Linked DNA regions of Homo sapiens: region 2 is linked to region 1. Evidence: promoter capture Hi-C in 16 types of primary human blood cells and fetal thymus (Javierre and others, 2016). All regions are on one chromosome and are shown on one strand. Each heading gives the region's core, a stretch centred on a gene start or on the middle of the fragment in contact. The rest is flanking DNA. Distances are from core to core; before and after follow the strand shown. Region 1 holds the start of MRPS28 (mitochondrial ribosomal protein S28). Region 2 has its middle 3.3 kb from the start of PAG1.

The links. The method cuts DNA at HindIII sites, captures the fragments that hold promoters and counts their contacts. A CHiCAGO score of 5 or more calls a contact.
Region 2: a fragment that was not itself captured here is called in contact with the fragment with the promoter of MRPS28 in region 1 in 1 of 17 cell types (fetal thymus); the score reaches 5.4 in fetal thymus.

The regions. Positions count from the first base shown.
Region 1 is chr8:80,027,822-80,032,216 of GRCh38, forward strand. MRPS28 (mitochondrial ribosomal protein S28) reads right to left here and starts at 2,438. Exons shown (of 3, transcript NM_014018.3): 1 at 2,215-2,438. The coding sequence starts at 2,427. All of the region lies in intron 5 of TPD52-MRPS28 (TPD52-MRPS28 readthrough), which reads right to left. It also overlaps a transcript of TPD52 not described here. RefSeq lists an enhancer at 2,161-2,590. The HindIII fragment of the contact is 3,845 bases long and covers 1-3,441 here.
Region 2 is chr8:81,113,177-81,117,571 of GRCh38, forward strand. No RefSeq gene overlaps it. Among named protein-coding and RNA genes, the nearest start is that of PAG1, 3.3 kb to the left of the region's middle. The HindIII fragment of the contact is 195 bases long and covers 1,827-2,021 here.

The DNA.
Region 1 (4,395 bases), core at 1,188-3,687:
TACATCACAACCAAACACATTTACCCATCATCTAGTAGAATAATGTTTTCTAAACTGTGTTAGACGGAGAACAACCACGCAGGGTGCAGAGATGCTGCTGAGCCTGAGCTGGACTGAGAAAATCTAACGGATGTGCTGGGACTGCCAGGAAACACCCCAGCCTCCTCCTGGAAAAACTGAACAGCCCAATTAGAACTGCCTTGGAAAGGAAAGGAAAGAGAAAAGGAAAGGAAAGGGAATTCTGGGGACTCTAAAACACCTTGGTTGTTTCCTTCATTAAATAAACAGTACATTTTTAGTTTCAAACACTTAACTTACTATACATGTGATGCTACAATTTTCACTCTTACCACAGTTAACTCAGCAATTGAGAATTATTTTGGGGGGTTTCCGAAGGGGCTTAGAATGTGGTATGAATGGGAGCGAAGCGTGAGTGAGAAATATTAGGTAAGAAATAGAAAAACTCCTTTCCTATACATATATTTGGAAGGGAGCACTGAACTCTATGTTTCCAACCTTACTGCACTTAACTCTTATGGCCTTACCTTAAGGATGGATCTAAAATCCATCCCTTAGGTGGCTTCAGGTCAATCATCGCTATTCTGCTAGTATTTTATGACTTCTCCATATATGGTAGAAAGAATAATGCCCCCTCCCCCTACAAAGACATCCACATCCTAATCTCTAGAATTTGTGAATATGTTACCTTCCGTGGCAAAGGAGAATTAACTTTGCAGGTGGAATTAAGATTGCTAATCAGCTGATCTTAAAATAGATTATCTAGGGAGGCCAATGTAATCACAGGGATCTCAAAAGCAGAAGACGGGCGGGGGGGGCGGGGCCGGGCGGGGTCAGCCAGGCCAGGTGGCTCACATCTGTCATCTGTAATCCCAGCACTTTGGGAGGCCAACGCAGGAGGATCACTTGAACCCAGGAGTTCAAGACCAGCCTGGGCAACATGGCAAAACCCCATCTCTACAAAAAAAAACAGAAAAAACAATTAGCCCAGAGTGGTGGTGCACACCTGCGGTCCCAGCTATGAAGCAGGAGGATCACTTGAGCCCAGGGGGTTTAGCAGTGAACTGAGATCATGCCACCACACTCCAGCGTGGGTGACAGAGCGAGACCCTGTCTCAAAAAACAACAAAACAAACAAAAAAATCCAAAAAACAAAAAAGTAGAAAACAGAGGCAGAAAAGACAGGCCAGGAAGAGATTCTCCTAGAAGCTACGGAAAAGAACACAACTTCACCAACACCTTGATTTTAGACCAGTGAGATCCCGTCTGACTTCTCACAACCCTAACAACAACACATTTCCTGTGTTTTACGCCACTAAATTTGTAGTAATTTGTTACAACAGAAAATAATAAACTAATATACCAGGCTTCTTCTAGTCCTTGGATTTCAGAAAAATTTTGACATCAGTAATTGCTACTAAAATGACCCTATAACCCAGGACACTGCCAGTCTTGTGAACTGTTTGGTACTACTCCCTAGGAAGAAAAATACAGAAATTGAGAGTTTATTTGTATATAATTCAATTTCATGTCTGCTGAGTTTAATTATTAAAAACTTAGGCTTGTAATTTTATTTCTTCCATTTCATTTATCTATAAATTTATGGTATTTTACAAAAGTACTGGCTGAGACAAACGGAGATTTTACTTTACTTTTTAAAAAAAGAAGACATTTACAAAAGAGAGGTGAAGCGCTGACAAGTTAAATCACTTGCCCAAGTTCAGAAAGTGATTCATCACCCAGTCATTAAATTAACAAATGTTTATGAAGGGCCTTCTACTCCAGACAGCAAGCTCCATGCTAGAGCTACTGTTCAGAACAAGACCCAGCAGAGCCCTGCCTCTCCGTGTGAGTCCCATTCTCCTTAGCGTCCCAGGAATCGCCCTAGATCGCCTCCCCAGCAGCGCTCCCCGCTGGTTACCTTCCCACCAGCATTCAATCCCAGGAAAACAAGCGCAGTGTGGACAGACCCGGCCCAGTACGCAAATGCCACACAAAAGGACAACGAAAGGAAGAAAAACACCAAGCACAGATTCTAGGGGCCGAGGGCTGAGCCACAACGCACCGCAACTCCGGAAAACTGGGCCCCGGACCTCAGCTCCCCTTCCTAAGCCAGGCTCCGCCCCTATTCCCGACCCCGCCCACCGCGTCGTTGGCGTAATTCCCGCGACTCCCTCTCACCCGCCCGGGCTCCACCTTCTGTAGGGGCTCCACCTTCTGTAGAAGCTCCGAGTGCCGCTCCAACGCGCTCGCGAAACCGCCTGCGCGCGTCTTAGGCTCCTTGGCATTGGAACTACCACTTTCGGATCCACTCTCAGTGCCTACACCCCGAAAGGGCCTGAAGAAGAGAAACACTCGCAGAAAATGGCTCTCGGCAGCCACAGCACGGGTCCGACACAGCGCCGCCATGACTTCTTTACCTCTGACCTTTGACCTCCCCTCCGCAAGCGCGCGGGTCACGGGGCGGAGCTATGAGAGGTCCGCCCCCCGGACGCAGAGCTCTGGAGGCCAACGAGGCGTGTCTTCCTTTCATCTGGGAGTGGCGTGGGGAAGAAGAGACTTAAGCTAAAATTGGTGGGCTAAATAGTTGGAAAGGGGCCTGGTTAAGTTTTGCGTTAGAAGTGCGTTTAACTTGCAGGAATTTCGCCTTCCTGGGCATCCGTTGGACCCCATTGTACTGTAAATTCTGCTAACGCGACGCTCGTTCTCCCGCCCTGCCGTCCCCCCTACATGGCCGCCAGCACTCGAGTTTGGGGTCTTCACTCAAATATGAGGGTCTCCTTGATTACCCTATTTAGAAGTGGAAGCCCAAATGCAGACTCTCTGGCACCTGTTTTTCTTAGTACCATGTAGCACTTTCTAATATGCCACATATTAATATTAAATATTTAATAATATTTAGTGTCTACTCCCAACTTTTTAAACTTTGAAAAGAGGAACTTTGCTGTAGGGTCCCTAGCACCAGGCACAGATTAGGGCTCACCCAACATTTGCCAAACCCTGCATCCAAGTTTGTCCTTTGCCACTTCTGCAGCCAGTCCACTCACGCCACAAAAATAGTTTTTCTGAAATGTTTTGACACCTCTAGATACCTATTATCTAACTTAGGAGTTCAGAAGTTTTGGAATGTCCCTAAGTATTGCACCGCCGTAGGCCCCCACCCTCACTCTGGATTTTCTTTCCCTTTTCTCCTGCAGTGTTAATTCCCAAAATTTACCCACCCTGTTCAAAACAGCCTAACATCATTCTTAAGTGTTTATTAATTAGTTGTCCGTCTATCTTTGACCCAGCAGTTTAATATTAATCCACAGTTAGTTTTATTTTGGGGGCACACACCTTTCCAGTTCATTTGCAAGTACTTCGAGAGAAAGAATTTTTATGATCACAGACCCTATTTTAAGAATGCCTTGACTATGGGTTTTAAGCTTTTCTGATGCTCTCTAATGGTACAGATAGTGTTAAGAACACGAAGTACACTGATCTCAGAATGGTGCACAATTGTATGAATCACATAAAATTATTACTAGCTAACTGTATGGTAGTCCTTACAAATTCATTAAATTCTCCAGGTGAGTTCTCCCTCTTGGCAGTTAAAACTGTTTATCTCCCGAGACTATTAATGGACTCTTGCCTAGAACATTATTTTCTACGGATAGTGCTACTTCCACTTTTTTTCAGGAGAAAGTGTGGTAAATTGTAAAGAGCATGGCCAGTGGTCTTCAAGAACCCTCAGTCTGACTGGGCAGGGTGGCTTACACTTGTAATCCCAGCACTTTGTGAGGTTGAGGAGGGAGGATTGCTTGAGATGAGGAGTCCGAGACCAGCTTGGGCCATAGCAAGAACCAGTCTCTACCAAAAAATAGAAAAATCAGCCTGGGGCAGTGGTGCATGCCTGTAGTCCCGGCTACTTGGGAGGCTGATGGAGGAGGATCACTTGAGCCCAGGAGTTTGAGGCTGCAGTGAGCTATGTTCCTGCCACTTCACTCCAGCATGGGTGAAAAGTGCAAAACTCAAGTATCCGTAAAAACACACCCCTGGCGTGGTGGCTCACACCTGTAATCCCAGCACTTTGGGAGGCCAAGGAGGGCAGATCACCTGAAGTCAGGAGTTCGAGATCAGCCTGGCCAACATGGTGAAACCCTGTCTCTACTAAAAATACAAAAATTAGCTGGGCGTGATGACACATGGCTGTAATCCCATCCACTCAGGAGGCTGAGGCAGGAGAATCACTTGAACCCAGGAGGTGGAGGTTGCAGTGAGCCAAGATCACACCACTGTTCTCCAGCCTGGGTGACAGAGCGAGACTCCAGCTCAAAAAAAAAAAAAAAAAAAAAAAATGAGTAAGTTTGTATCAAATGACTTCAAATTTGGCCTTAG
Region 2 (4,395 bases), core at 674-3,173, 1.1 Mb after region 1:
ACACTCGTTACACATATCATTAATGGGAGCTTAAAGGTGGCTGGGGAAGAAGGCTCATCAGGAGAGGGTAAGGAAGACAGTGATGGAGTAAGGGATGTTGTTAGTGTGTCGCAGAGGGAAGGGTATGTGGGAGGAAACAGTTTAGACTCAGCCTACAGCTTGGAAAAGCCCATTGGGGAAGCGGACCCAGGAACCAGACTTGGCCTCTTGCTTCAGAGCATGGTATGAAACTCAGGTGTTTAAGAACTTATGGAGTATAACATTTCACATACGTTACCTCACTGAAATTTCACAGTGGTCTCTTAAGTTGAATAATAATATAAAAAAGTATCCCCATTTTATATATTAAAGAAGACATCCTGGACATGAGTTGACTAATGGTGGAACTTGAATAAAAGTAGGGATCTCCGTGTTGGACTTGGCTTCTACAACTCTGGAGAAGAGGACAATTTAGACCTTATAAAGCAAATGGTTTCTGTGTTTACTAGTCACATCTTTTACAGGCTGTGCCTAAATTTGGAGTTAGGAAGGCTTTCATTCTTGTGGGGAGGAAATACATTTTGTGTCTTCCAGTTTTGCTACACTTGTTAGGATACACTTAGAACAAAATGTTCTAAGAGCAACCCGGTCCTAGGACATTGCAGTTCCACAGTGCAGGCTTCATTGAGGAGTTTGAAGGGCAATATTCACGTTATCTGGTGACAAGTGTAATTACCATCCTCATTTTACCCAGGCTCAGAAGCTAAGTGATTTAGACAAATTCACGAATGCAGGCAGGAGCCAATCTCTAGCCTCTGTCCTTTTCCTCTGCTCTCTTTTCACCAAGTAACATGCTGAGGATTGTTTTTCATTTCCAAATTTTTCATATCAGGATTTGCCATCAGTAAATTGGAACTCAAATGTATTTCAAAGCCACTCCTAGATAGAGAACCAAAAGTGTCAGGATCAATTCTTGTGCTTGTGGTAGATGCTATGGGCTATACTCTCGGTCTGAGTAATGTTTTGGAAGCAAGTATGTGATAGTTATATACAGTCTTCTAATCCAGAGGTTTGACTGGGAATGCTACACTGCCAACTGTGGTCTACCTGCCTTTATCTTTACTTCTTATCTAACTCTTCCATTACAGCCATTCTTCGGTGTGATTATGAAATTAATTCCTAAGAAAAAAGAATTCTTTGAAGGAGCTGGTACATCACAGGTTGTAAAACTTACTTCAGTTTTTAATAAGAAATATATATATATTTTAAATATGAAGGTAGCAGAATAGTCATGTTGGGACCTTTAGAAGAACCCAAAGTTGTCATTGTTTTCTTAGGTGCCCGACATTTCAATCAAAATATTTACATAATTCATTTGTATATTGATTTCAAGAGATCCAAGATTTAATTAAATAAAAAGTTACTATTAATTGGTGTGTCCTACTGCTATTGAATTTTGAACCATTGTTATTGGCATTAAATACATGAAATATATAATATTGTCTTGATACTATATTGACTGTGCTTTAATATTGACTGTGTCTTGATATTGACTGTGTCTGTATTTAGAATTTATTTCACATCAGCTGCTATTGATTGTCTGGCAGAAATCGCAGCTACATCTTTTTCTCTGAGGTCTGTATTCCTTATGGGTCAGCAAGGCCTACTCTTTGGCTGAGAATTCCTTCCTTCAATGCCTCTAAAAGTCCTAGTAGTGAGATATTCAATTATATAGACACTAATGACTCCACTGAAACTATTCTTCCCTCATGCAGAAACTGTACCTAGGATAGATTTTTATTAAAGTCTTTCTGCTAAAAATCACAGGCTTACCAACTGAGCTGGAAAGCTTAGGCTCAAAAATTCTCCACCTTTATTAATTACATTTCTTCATCCATTTCACTCAAAGGGATTCTTTGACATGAAAATCTTCACTTACTTCATAGACACAGTCCAGATAAGAGAACTGTGGGGAGTCCAAGGTGACTAGCAAGAGTGAGACAGTTGGGAGGAAGGAATTAGATGCCACTTGGTGAAAAATAAGCTTGCCATAAAAATTAATACAAGTTGTGCTTGATTTGTGGACATGGCTTATTACAAAGTTTGCCTTGTTTGAACACATGCAGCAGCTGATAACTTCACTGGAAACCATCACTGAATCCCTGGTGTAGATGGGATTGGGGGAGATTAGGGTCCTGTCTTCTTTCCCGAGAAACTTTAGAAAAGTATTAGAAAGCCCAATTCTTGCCCTAATGCAGGAAACTTACGACGTGCCTGCATTGTAAATGTTCATGTCTAAGTTATCTCACTTACAATTTAGAGCAGTCAATATAATAAATAATCAGGATTTTCAGGCTAGCTCCATAATGTTTTTTAAGTCTCTATTAACAACAAAAAAAGCTAATAGAGTGTTAATTATAACCCTGAACCTGAGAAGAAATAGGTGATGGGTAGGGATGTTGGGCTAAGGCAGGAATGGGGTCGGGGGCTGGGACAGGATGGAATTTAGGGATGGAAGAAGGAAGGCAGGAAGTGGCCTTTGGTTGCTGAGGAGCAAAGGCTGGTGGAGACTGAGTATCAGCAGCTTCTGAGATAAGACTGGGCAATGGCCTGTGAGCAAGATTAGAGAGCAAGCAATCAAGACTCTGCTGGCAACTCACAGCTTACCTGAACTTAAAGTGCTGAGGATTCCACGTGTGACTTTGTCTATAGGAAAGAGGGATCAGAGGTTAAGAAATAGATTATAAATTCCTTAAAACCCATGATAGATGCTTTAAAGAACTACTACAAAATATACCCTCAATTTCAATCTCTAAGAGTTACTTTTTCCTCCCTCCCAACCAAATTGCCCACTAATAAAAGGAGAGAGCAGCTGGGGGAGAGGCCATGCTGCACAGTGCGAACCTCACAGGCTGTCTGGCCCCCACTCCCAGCATCTCCATCCATCAGCTGTAATCACGTGACTGCCATCTTTGATTACCTAATACACAGTAACAAGAGCTTCAAGCACATATTAGGTTCCGAATATGCTAGCTATTAGTGGTGGGCTTTACAAAATCTCTCCTAGAGTTAAAATCTGAAACTAGACATCTCTTAGTGTCTATTTTATCATTTTAATGTAAACCATGATGAACTGTAGTTTTTAAGAGAGTACTTTCCTTCTCCATCAGAAGACTTAAGAGTGACTTTAGGGCTCCTCTGAGGACAGGAGAATCGTGTAGAAAAGGCTTTCAAGGGAGATCAGGGCAAAACCTACTAATGTAGCTCTGCAGCCTCACACTATACTGTAGAGGAAAAGTCAAGGCTTAAGGACTTGACATTTTCATATCTTTCTACCGGGAGAAAGAAATTATGGTGGCAAGAGACAGTAGCTATAAAAGTGAAAATAGAGTGCTTTAAAGAAATGCCTTTATATTACAGATTTGAGAATGGACATTTCCATTGTCCTTTGTCATCCTGACCTTACACATTCCTTAAAGTTCTATCCTGACATCAACACTCAAGATGTGTGCCTGTAAAACTGATGTAGATACTCAGAATGTTGGTAGAGATTCCTTAAGCTCACTTTTAATTCTTCTGCCTTTATCACTTCAATATAATACAATTTTTATAAACATATTTTAAGCAGGCATCAGAGAAAACTGCGTGTTTCCTTAGTAGCCAACCAGTTGCCTGCCAGCAAGCAAAACTTCAGCATTGAGAAAGGAAGATTTTGAAATTCAATTCCAAAAGAAGTGAGTTGTGCCATCTCCAACATTAGAAATATGTGAAAGACTTATAGTGGCTAAAGCATTTCTGTCATTTCTTGCCTTTATACATCTTCCTCCAGTCCCGCCCTCTCAACACCTTTTCAGCAAATAGACTTTTCTGCTCTCAGTCTTGTACTCTCCCTAAAATGGAAGCTGTCTCTTGTTATATAGCTACAACAGATGACAGGAAGAGGAAATTCAGCAGAAAGTGGCTTTCTCTGTGAGCCACAAGCCCATTAAAAGTGGAAGATTATTCTTTGTTTACATGGCTTTCTTCTTCAGTTTGCATAAGGTTCCTTATCTGAAAAATGGGGATAATAGTATCAGAAAATAGTATCAGTATCCACAAAATAACATAATTATTTTCTGAAAGAATCAGCCATTTACCTATTCCTACTTCCCTCTGAAGAGCATTCAGTTTCTGCTGAATTCTCTTCTTTTGTTCTCTACTCCCAAAGAAGAGAACACCTTCTAGAGAGGGTTGATGGTCAATGCTAGTGAGTGCTAGTGAGAATGCAGGCTCCCCAGAGTTTTCATACACTTGGCAATGGTCAAACCTGTGGTTCTGAACAGGTAACAAAAACTGGTGCTTGAGATGTTACTTGTGTGGCTGGTGGTCAGACCCTCAGCAGAGTCTGAAACAAATTCTTTGGGGGATGAATAAAAG